2 separate regions of the Homo sapiens genome follow, and region 2 is linked to region 1. Evidence: promoter capture Hi-C in human tissues and cell types (Jung and others, 2019). All regions are on one chromosome and are shown on one strand. Each heading gives the region's core, a stretch centred on a gene start or on the middle of the fragment in contact. The rest is flanking DNA. Distances are from core to core; before and after follow the strand shown.

Region 1 (4,327 bases), core at 1,604-4,103:
ATAAACTTTTCAGACCTGTGTACCAAGTTCTATATTTACGTTACTGGAAAACATCAGCGTGGTTCCTCTCTCTCTACACTTCATAAGGAACAGAGCAAGAAAAGAGCTTGAAAAACAGAAGTTACTTTTTATTAGAAAAGGAATTTTCAAGTGAAGACATAATTTACCTGTGACAGACTGACATCTATACATGACAGTGATTAAACTTCACTGAATACCCAAAACGGTAACTTTTTTTTAGTTCACAATCTTTGAATTAGACAACTATTCCTGTTTTTATTTAAAAATAACCCACTTTCGGCCAGGCACCGTGGCTCACGCCTGTAATCCCAGCACTTTGGGAGGCCGAAGCTGGTGGATCACGAGGTCCGGAGTTGGAGACCATCCTGGCTAACATGGTGAAACCCCGTCTCTACTAAAAATACAAAAAATTAGCCGGGCGTGGTGATACCCGCCTGTAATCCCAGCTACTTGGGAGGCTGAGGCAGGAGAATCGCTTGAACCCAGGAGGCGGAGGTTGCAGTGAGCCGAGACCGCGCCACTGCACTCCAGCCTGGGCAAGAGAGCAAGACTGCATTTAAAAAAAAAAAAAAAAAAAAAAAAAAAAAACTTTCCCTGTTTTATATTTCTCAATGTTAAGATAAGTTTACCCAAAGTTTGAAACAACTGATAACTTCTGGTCTGCAAGATCCCTACGGCATTAGATCTCTAAAACAGAAACCAACAACATATAATATTACAAGATATAACAGTATGTATATTATAGTTCCTGAGTTTAAGGACATCAGTAACTTGATTTAAAAAAAAAGAAGTCATGCTCAAACATACGACTCAAAGTTTTCAAGCCATATTTTACAAAGATTGTGTTTTTTGGTTCGTATGCTATAATTACTATTTAAACTCATCGCTTATATTTGAAAATAACTTGTGTGAAATCATCAAGGGAAAAGGGGTCAGTCGCCTAGAGACACCACATTAAACTCACTCTTTAAGGCCATCATAAATACAGGTAACTTGGAATCAGAAAAAAAAATTCAAATTCACAGTAAGCCTAAGTAAAAATTCAACAAAGATATATCACAATATATATATAAAAGCAAAATGGAAACACGTTTAACCTTGATAGAAAAAAAAAATGAAAAGCAAAGTTTAAAATGGAAACTACCGAAATTGAGAAAGAATTCCAATGACATGACATTTTCTTGCCAAAGCGAAGGAATTTGTAGATTATATCATTCAAATCTCATTGTATTACATTATAAAGGTCTTAGCAACGGTTGGCCATTAATCTTTAACACAAAGGAGATTCAAATCCAAATGAACTGTAAGACTATCTCTTCCAGGAGAGAGAAATGGAGTAATTTACTTTATCCACAATTGTTTAACCCAAAAGGAAGGCCTTTAAGGATGATAACGCAGAATGGATCAGCCTTCAGTCTACCAAGTCCCATTTCACACGAAGTCTTGCACCAATCCGAAAAGAGAAGGTTATGGACACAGAACAGGTTTAGGAAAGGCTGGAAAAAAAATCTCCAATGAATGACACACCACATCACGGTTTATTCTCCTACACAATTTGAGAAACAATAAAGAAAAATATCATACCATATGTTTCATCGTATCAATTAAAAAAATATTTTACGACAGTACATTCAATTCTTCGGGGCCGCAAAAATAATTTAGCTCCTGTTTTATTGAGTACAGAGCAAAGGGAAAAAGCAGCTGCTGCAATGCAACACAGGCTGCTACAGAGAAAGGGGAGAAAAGGCTTTTCCAAACAGATCCCTTCCCCGCCCCCGCTTACACACCCCTACCAACTTACTTATCCCAGTCTTTTACTGCCCCCACCACGTGAACCTAATCAATTCTTTCCCTTCCCCCACCATCGTGAAATTTCACCTTTCACAGCTCCTTCACCTACCCCTACCAGAGGCACTTTATTACCCGCAGAGATTTCAGACCTTTCAAACTTTTCTTCCTTTTTTAATTAAACACGAGAGTTCGGAGGCAAAAGTGCATGAAATTTTTACATATATACGAAAAAATACCTGTTTCCCAGCAACACGCACGCTTCGATTCTCGAACCCCTCCCCATCTCCCGGGTTTCGCTTGCAAAGGCTTGGGGGAGGGAGCCAGGCGCAAATTAAATTTAGGAAGGGAAATCCTGGGTGAAAGAAGAGCATTTGAGGAAAAATGAGAGAACGATGAAGCGAGACCCCCAAACCACACGGGTTGGGGAGGTTTCCAAGAAAGAAAGAGAAATTGGAAGGGACAAAAGGCGGAGGGGGGAGGAACAGACCGGAGACCAGGGGAGACGCGCCGGGCCGGGAGAGGGAAGGCGGGGTCCGAGGAGAACGGGGGTCGCGGCTCCCGCGGCACAATGGCCCGCCCGGCCCCCGCCCCGCGCGCCCCTCACCTCATGGTGCCGGCGGCGCAGAGGCTTCCCCACCAGCCGGGAGACGCAGAAGGCGCCGAGCCGAGGGGGGGGTCTCTCCTCCAGGGGTGGGGAGCAGCTCGGAGACGGGAGACAAGTGTCCGGCTCCTCCTTCGGCGGCCAGGGGGCTACACCATCTCCTCGCACAAAGCCGAGGCGCCGGCCGGGAGTGTGGGAGAAGAGGGCGAGAGAAAGGCTGGGGAGGGGGCGGAGAGGCCGAGGCGCGGAGCTGGTCCCCAGGCGGCCGCCGCCTCCCACCTCCTCGTGGTCCTGCTCCTCCTCCCGGAGCTTCCTCGGCCGCCCTCTGAGGGGTGCCCGCCGGGGCCGCGCGCCCGGCCGCCGCTCCACAGGCCCGCGCTCGCCGCGCCGCCGCCGAGGCCGTGTGCAACCGGCAGCTGCTGCAGCCGCGGGAGGAGAGTCGGGATCGCCGCGAGGAACCCGGGAGGAGGCGGGGCGCGCGGCGGAGGAACACGCAGGCGCCGCCCTCCTCCCCTCCTTCCCCCGGGGGCGAGGGGGCGGTGCGGGGGGAGGGGAGGAAAGGGGAGGCGGGGGGCCGGGCGCACTCCCCCGCGCCGGCGGCCGGGCCCCCGCCGGACTGCGGAGAGCGAGGCTGGGAGAGAGCGAGCGCGACGGCGGCGGCGGCGGAGAGAGGCTCTTTGTTGCCTCCCTACCCCGCCCCCTGCACCCCTCTGGGATTCGGGCGGGCCACCACCCCCCCCTCCCGCCCAACACCTCCGGCCAGTTGTCGGCCGGGGTTCCTCGCCCGTGGTTGTCCTTGACCGTCGGCCCCCTCCCCGTCGCCTCCCGCTCCCCAGAGGCTTGGGGAGCTCCGAGGCCTCCCCCACGGCCACGGTGCGGAGACCGAGGCGCCGAGACCTCCTGGGCGCCAGACCCGTAGGCACCGGCGTGGGGAGCTTGGACGCGTGACTGGGCACAGGGCCGGGCCAGGAGACTCCGGGTCGGCTCGCGGCCGGGTGCCCTCGCGCGGGGCGAGTGCTCAGCCCGCCCTGTTGCGGTCTCAGGACGGGGATGAGGGAATCGGGGGGCATCCCGGTCAGCCCAACTGCCCGCCCTCGCCGCGGCTGCGCCCAGCGATTCCTGCGGAGTTGAGGAGGGGCATATAAATGGAAAATATGGTCATCATTGTTCCCTTCGCTCCTTTTCTTCCCGAGGAATCCCAGCGTGCTGCGCCGATGGAACGAGTTGATGTGCACACTAGGTATAGGGATGACTTCATCCCCAAACGAACGCAGCCGACTCTCGGGGAAACGCAGTCGCCGGGAGACGCGCGCGGAACAGTGTGTTGCCGCAAGAGTGGAAGAAGAGAAACGCAGCCAGTGGAGCCGCTTTCCAGCGTCATTAGCAAAGAGGGAATCCCGGGCAGGGGGCGGGGAGAGAGAGGAACTAATGATAATTTTAAATTTTTCGTCATTCCCAATGGTCTTGAAGTCACCTCCCTTAAAAAGTAGATATAAAATACTGGCGAGGCAATTTCATTTCAAGTCAAGTCGGGGAGGAGGGCATCCAGGAAGCCAGAATTGATCGTTGTTGAAGGTTTTGTTTTCGGTTTTTTTTAAATCTAAAAACAAATCCAATAATAAAATTTTTAACTGTACGAATTACGGCCCCCTTTTAGTCCGGAAGACAGGGATGTACTTTCTGTATAAAAGGTGAGGAGGATAGAAAAGGGTTGTTGCTACAGGGATCCTATTGCTGAAGGATCTCATCCAAAATGGAGGACCTACCATGACTCCAGGAATCCATTCAAAAGTTTTGGTGTTTTGTTTTAAGATGCAGGTACCATTCAAAAGATAGTTAGGAAGGTTGGGATAATGTACACTTCCAAATGAAAAGACAGGTTATAGTGATCCGTGGTCAATGCCTGATTTGTCT
Region 2 (4,789 bases), core at 2,237-4,736, 40 kb after region 1:
GTGGCTGTCTCTGGGCCAGGGTGGGCCTTTTCCCACCAGTGCTTTTGGTAGCAGTGCATTCCATGCAACCGCTTCACAAAGTAGATGATATTTTTCCAGGGTAACCATGTTATAATTGGGGTTTGTGTTATTAACTAAATCAATCATAATATAAAGCCAATCCAATATCATAAAAATAAAAATCAAGTGACACACAAGCCTCTGTAATAATTATGACCCAGATTAGGAGTACAGCTCATATCTGACACTGGTATGATCTGGAGCATGATTTCATCATCATCGTGTTCATAGGTGGCCCTAGTTTTGCTTTGATGAATCATCCTTGGTGGTAGCATTGGGCTCTACTTCCCATATCTAAAATTGGGTTCCTTGGAACCCAACTCTTCTGGAGGAAAACTTTTGAGTTGACATCCAGCCCCTCAGTGTCATTCCCTAAGATACCAAGACAATGAAAGCAAGGAGGATGTGTGGGTGGCCAGAGCCTTGGGCCCTCTCTGTTTCAACCATGACAAAATGTTTGATCACATTTTACAATCCTTCTGGAATTTCTTCCCTAGAGCACTGCTCTTAGCTGGGTGGCCCCCTTCTCCATCTTTTGGCACTCTCTGCGTTCCCTCCCTCTACTTAGCAGACCCAGCTTTCTGATTGATCCTACTCCCTGGCCTCTTGCTTTTTTTATATATTTTTTTCTTTTGAGACGGGGTCTCACTCTGTCATCCAGGCTAGAGTGTAGTGGTGCAATCACAGCTCACTGTAGCCTCAACCTGCCAGGCTCAAGCAATCCTCCCCACTCAGCTTCCTGAGTAGCTGGGACTACAGGTGCGCACCACCATGCCTCGCTAATGCTTAAAATTTTTTTTGTAGAGATGGGGTCTCACTATGTTGCCCAGGATGGCCTCGCACTCCTGTGCTCAAGCAATCCTCCTGCCTTGGCCTCCCAAAGTTCCACGACTTCTTTTCTCTCTTTGTCCTATCTCAGTACAGCATAAAAATGGGGAGTAACCAGGGATCCCTCAGACGTCAGCCCATAAGACACCAAGACAAACAGGGACAGATTACTGAAAAGCACAATCTAAAGAAGTCCAGGCCTGGCGTGGTGGCTCATGCCTGTAATCCCCGCAGGATCACTGGGATCGCAGTGGCTCATGCCTGTAATCCCAGGTGGATCACTTGAGGTCGGGAGTTTGAGACCGGCCTGGGCAACATGGTGAAACCCCATCTCTACTAAAACACAAAAATTAGCTGGGAGCGGTGGCAGGCGCCTGTAATCCCAGCTACTCGGGAGGCTGAGGCAGGAGAATTGCTTGAACCCGGGAAGCGGAGGTTTCAGTGAGCCAAGATGGCGCCACTGCACTCTAACCTGGGCTACAGAGAGAGATTTTATCTCAAAAAATAAATAAAATAAAAAAGAAGCCCAGGGACAAATGAGCCCACCTCCACTGTAGACACTGGGAGCCACATTCTCAAAATGAGTAACTGCAGGGAAGAGACAGAATTCTCACAAGAGGGCATATCCTCCGCCCTTCATACATTTCTCCTGTAACACCCTTCTGGTTGAAAAGAAATAAGAAAGCTGTGCTTGACTTTTGCTCTAGTGCTTTTTAAGATCAAGCAGGAATCTTACATTCTTTCATTGCCTTTCACATTTCTTTTCCTTCTTCCGTGTCCTCTTTCTTTTTAAATTCAGATCATTTAACAGACAAGGGTCATAGCTAAAAATAAATCTTCATTGACCTGAGCTACCTATGATGTCATTTACTGTATTCATAGGTCTCCAGAGTCAACACTCCAGGCATGTAGACACACACAGGAGAATAAAACCTCAGTTCCCAGGCAGCTTCCAGAAGCTGTGGCATTGCTGTGGCCTGAGGCCTGGACTTTCCCAGGGGATAGGTATCCAGATCGTTTGTGCCCTTCCATATCACCTTTCATTCAGAGGCCTTACCTGGATTGGTAGCCAAGCATTGATACTCATGCCTCCCCAAAGAGGTAAGTTTTAGTAGGAAACTGAAAGAAACCAAGGCCCAACAAAATGAGGCAACTAGACGGAGTGACTGGGGAAGTTTCCAGCCAAGTCAGATATAAAATTTGTACTGTGAAAAACTGTTATCTGTATTTTGGTATTTACCAAAAAACAGTGAGCCATGATCACTCCATGCAGTGGGTTAAACTTGTGGGAGAAGTAAATTCTGTGGTGTCAGCTCAGAACAGAACATATTGGGAATGCATAATAGAAAAGCAGTACTCTCACTCAGCTTCATAACTCCAGCAAATTTGTGGATTGGGGTTAACCACGTCTGGAATTCCAGAACTCAAGTTACCCAAGTGTGGCAGGCCAGGGGAATTTCTGCGGGCTGGATGGGAAATCTTCAAAGTCAGCATTTATTTTCATCTGCACTCAATATTTTGGCCCAATATGTAAGTAACTTGATGTCCATTCTTGTGTTGATAAGGAGCCTAAAAGCCTGGAACAGAGAAAGGAAAAGTTGGTCTCCACTTGGATCTCAATGTGGTCATCAGTCATGGAAAATGCTGACTATGACCATTCCCAATCAGCTCCTCATGCCTGGCACTAAGAGACACTAGACACCTTGGGCTGCAATGACTGCATTGTGCGTTTGTCACTTTACCATAAGCTACATGAGTCCCCAGCTGGCTGTGTTAAAGTGCTCCATCTTCCCAATAGCCATGTGTCCCTTGACGGCAGGAACACTTTCATGTTTCTTCTGCAGCTCTCATGGTGCACCATGTTGCTTATTCTTTTTTTTCCCTTTTTAAATTTATTTATTTTTAGAGATGGGGTCCTGCTATGTTGCCCAGGCTGGTCTAGAACTCCTGGCCTTAAGACATCCTCCCACCTTGGCTTCCCAAAGTTTTGGGATTACAGGCATGGGACACCACGCCCAGCCCATGTTGGTATTCTCTCTGTCAGCACCCAAACAGGGAAGCAGAACCATGTGTAAATTTTGAAGGATATATTAGGCAATGGTGGGAGAAGCTAAGGAAGGGTGCATGACAAGGAGTTAAAGCATCAGTCACAAACCAGCCTTCCTGAAGCACTGGTGTGGATGGAACAAAGTTTGCCAAGGAATATAGGCAGCTAGGCACATCTGGTTGCTGAAGTGGGACCGTGAAAGTAGAGCTGGTAGAAAAGTCTATGTTTCTGATGGTGAGCCGGCCCCACTAATGGTCTTAGGAAGAGTTGCTGGCTGTGGAATGGGAAACTGAACAAGCTGGAACCCACCAGCACCCCTGCACCTGCCAGTCAGAGCATCAAACCACAATGACCTTCAGAGAGTAGTGGCTGTTGCTTTACTTCCACCTTCCTAATCTTGGACAAATTTCTCTTTTGTCCAGCTCTCACCCAGAGGCATACCAAGAAAGGAACTTGAGAAAACCATTCCAGTTAAAGCAAGTTGACCCGGCACAGTCCAAAATCCGTGCTATGCAGCACAGTCCAAAATCCGTGCTATGCAGCACAGTCCAAAATCCGTGCTACCCAGCACAGTCCAAAATCCGTGCAGGTATGTACTAGTTGCTCAGAACACAAGCAGTCAGTTTCTAGCATTGTGAGAAAAGCCCTGATCTAAAGTCAGGATATCTAGGACTTCTGGTCATAGTTCTACCTCTAAAAATGTGTCCTGGGCTAAATTGTTAACCTCTCTGCCCCTCAGGTCCTTAGGGAAAGAAAATGACGACTCATCACCTCTTAGATGGTGCATACAGAAGTGAAGGAGTTAAAATGTTAGCAGTGAAACTGTCAAACAGTACACAGGGGGAAAAAAAAGAAACTTCCATCCAAAGACTCTAAAAGATGCTAGATTCTGTAATGTTATTTTCTCTGATTTTCTTACTGTGCATGTAAAGCATGTTTATTTACAGCTAAGTCTCCCTGCTAAAGCATGGGTTTGAAAATGAGAAATTCTAGGCTGGGCATGGTGGCTTACACCTGTAATCCCAGCACTTTGGGAGGCTGAGGCAGATGGATCATCTGAGATCAGGAGTTCAAGACCAGCCTGGCCCACATGGTGAAACCCCGTCTCTACTAAAAAAATACAAAATTAGCCGGCGTGGTGGTGGGCGCCTGTAATCCCAGCTACTCAGGAGGCTGAGGCAGGAGAATCACTTGAACCCAGGAGGTGGAGGTTGCAGTGAGCCGAGATCGCACCACTGCATTCCAGCCTGGTCAACAAGACTGACACTCCATCTCCAAAAAAAAAGAAAATGAGAAAATCTAGCTATTTTTTCCTGTAACTATAATCTTGGTGTGCTATGAAATTTGGAGCAAGTCATTAAACCATTTTCTGTCAACATTTACTTATATACAGAATGGGATTAATAATATTCTAACAATAGTAATTGACCATTAGCTAAGTCCTTTAAAGAAATGAAGTCTCCAGCATTTGTTGCATCAAGGCCCTGCAGAGCTGTATGAGCTTCAGCCCCGCTGTGTTCTACTAGACTCCAGGGCTTGCCTGTGTTATCTCCAACAGATAAGATCATGCCAGAACACATGAAGTCAGCACTCACCCCATTTAACCTTAAGTCAACACTACAGGGTTTGCTTCCTTTTACCAAGTACCAGCAAACATAGAAAAACAATCAGTTTCCTGGTTCCAGTCTGATCTGCTGCAAAGAACAAAGAAGGGACCACCTTACTTTATCCACTGGATAAAGGGAACAGGGAGCCAAAAAATGATGTAGGAGATGGTGCCAGGCCGGGGTTGAGGAAGCAGGACAGAACCCAGGAATTTGCTTTCTCCTTGGACCTACTGCTTTCTACAGAGGG

What was found. The method cuts DNA at HindIII sites, captures the fragments that hold promoters and counts their contacts. A contact is called where the count stands out against the background at its distance.
Region 2: a fragment that was not itself captured here is called in contact with the fragment with the promoter of ENAH in region 1 in 1 of the 25 tissues and cell types used here (aorta).

What each region holds. Positions count from the first base shown.
Region 1 is chr1:225,650,270-225,654,596 of GRCh38, forward strand. It overlaps ENAH (ENAH actin regulator), which reads right to left and starts at 2,854. Exons shown (of 14, transcript NM_018212.6): 1 at 2,417-2,854. The coding sequence starts at 2,421. RefSeq lists a silencer at 2,704-2,833. The HindIII fragment of the contact is 16,817 bases long and covers 1-4,327 here.
Region 2 is chr1:225,689,805-225,694,593 of GRCh38, forward strand. It overlaps LOC102723834 (a long non-coding RNA gene), which reads left to right and starts at 1,883. Exons shown (of 4, transcript XR_426933.4): 1 at 1,883-1,989. The HindIII fragment of the contact is 6,670 bases long and covers 152-4,789 here.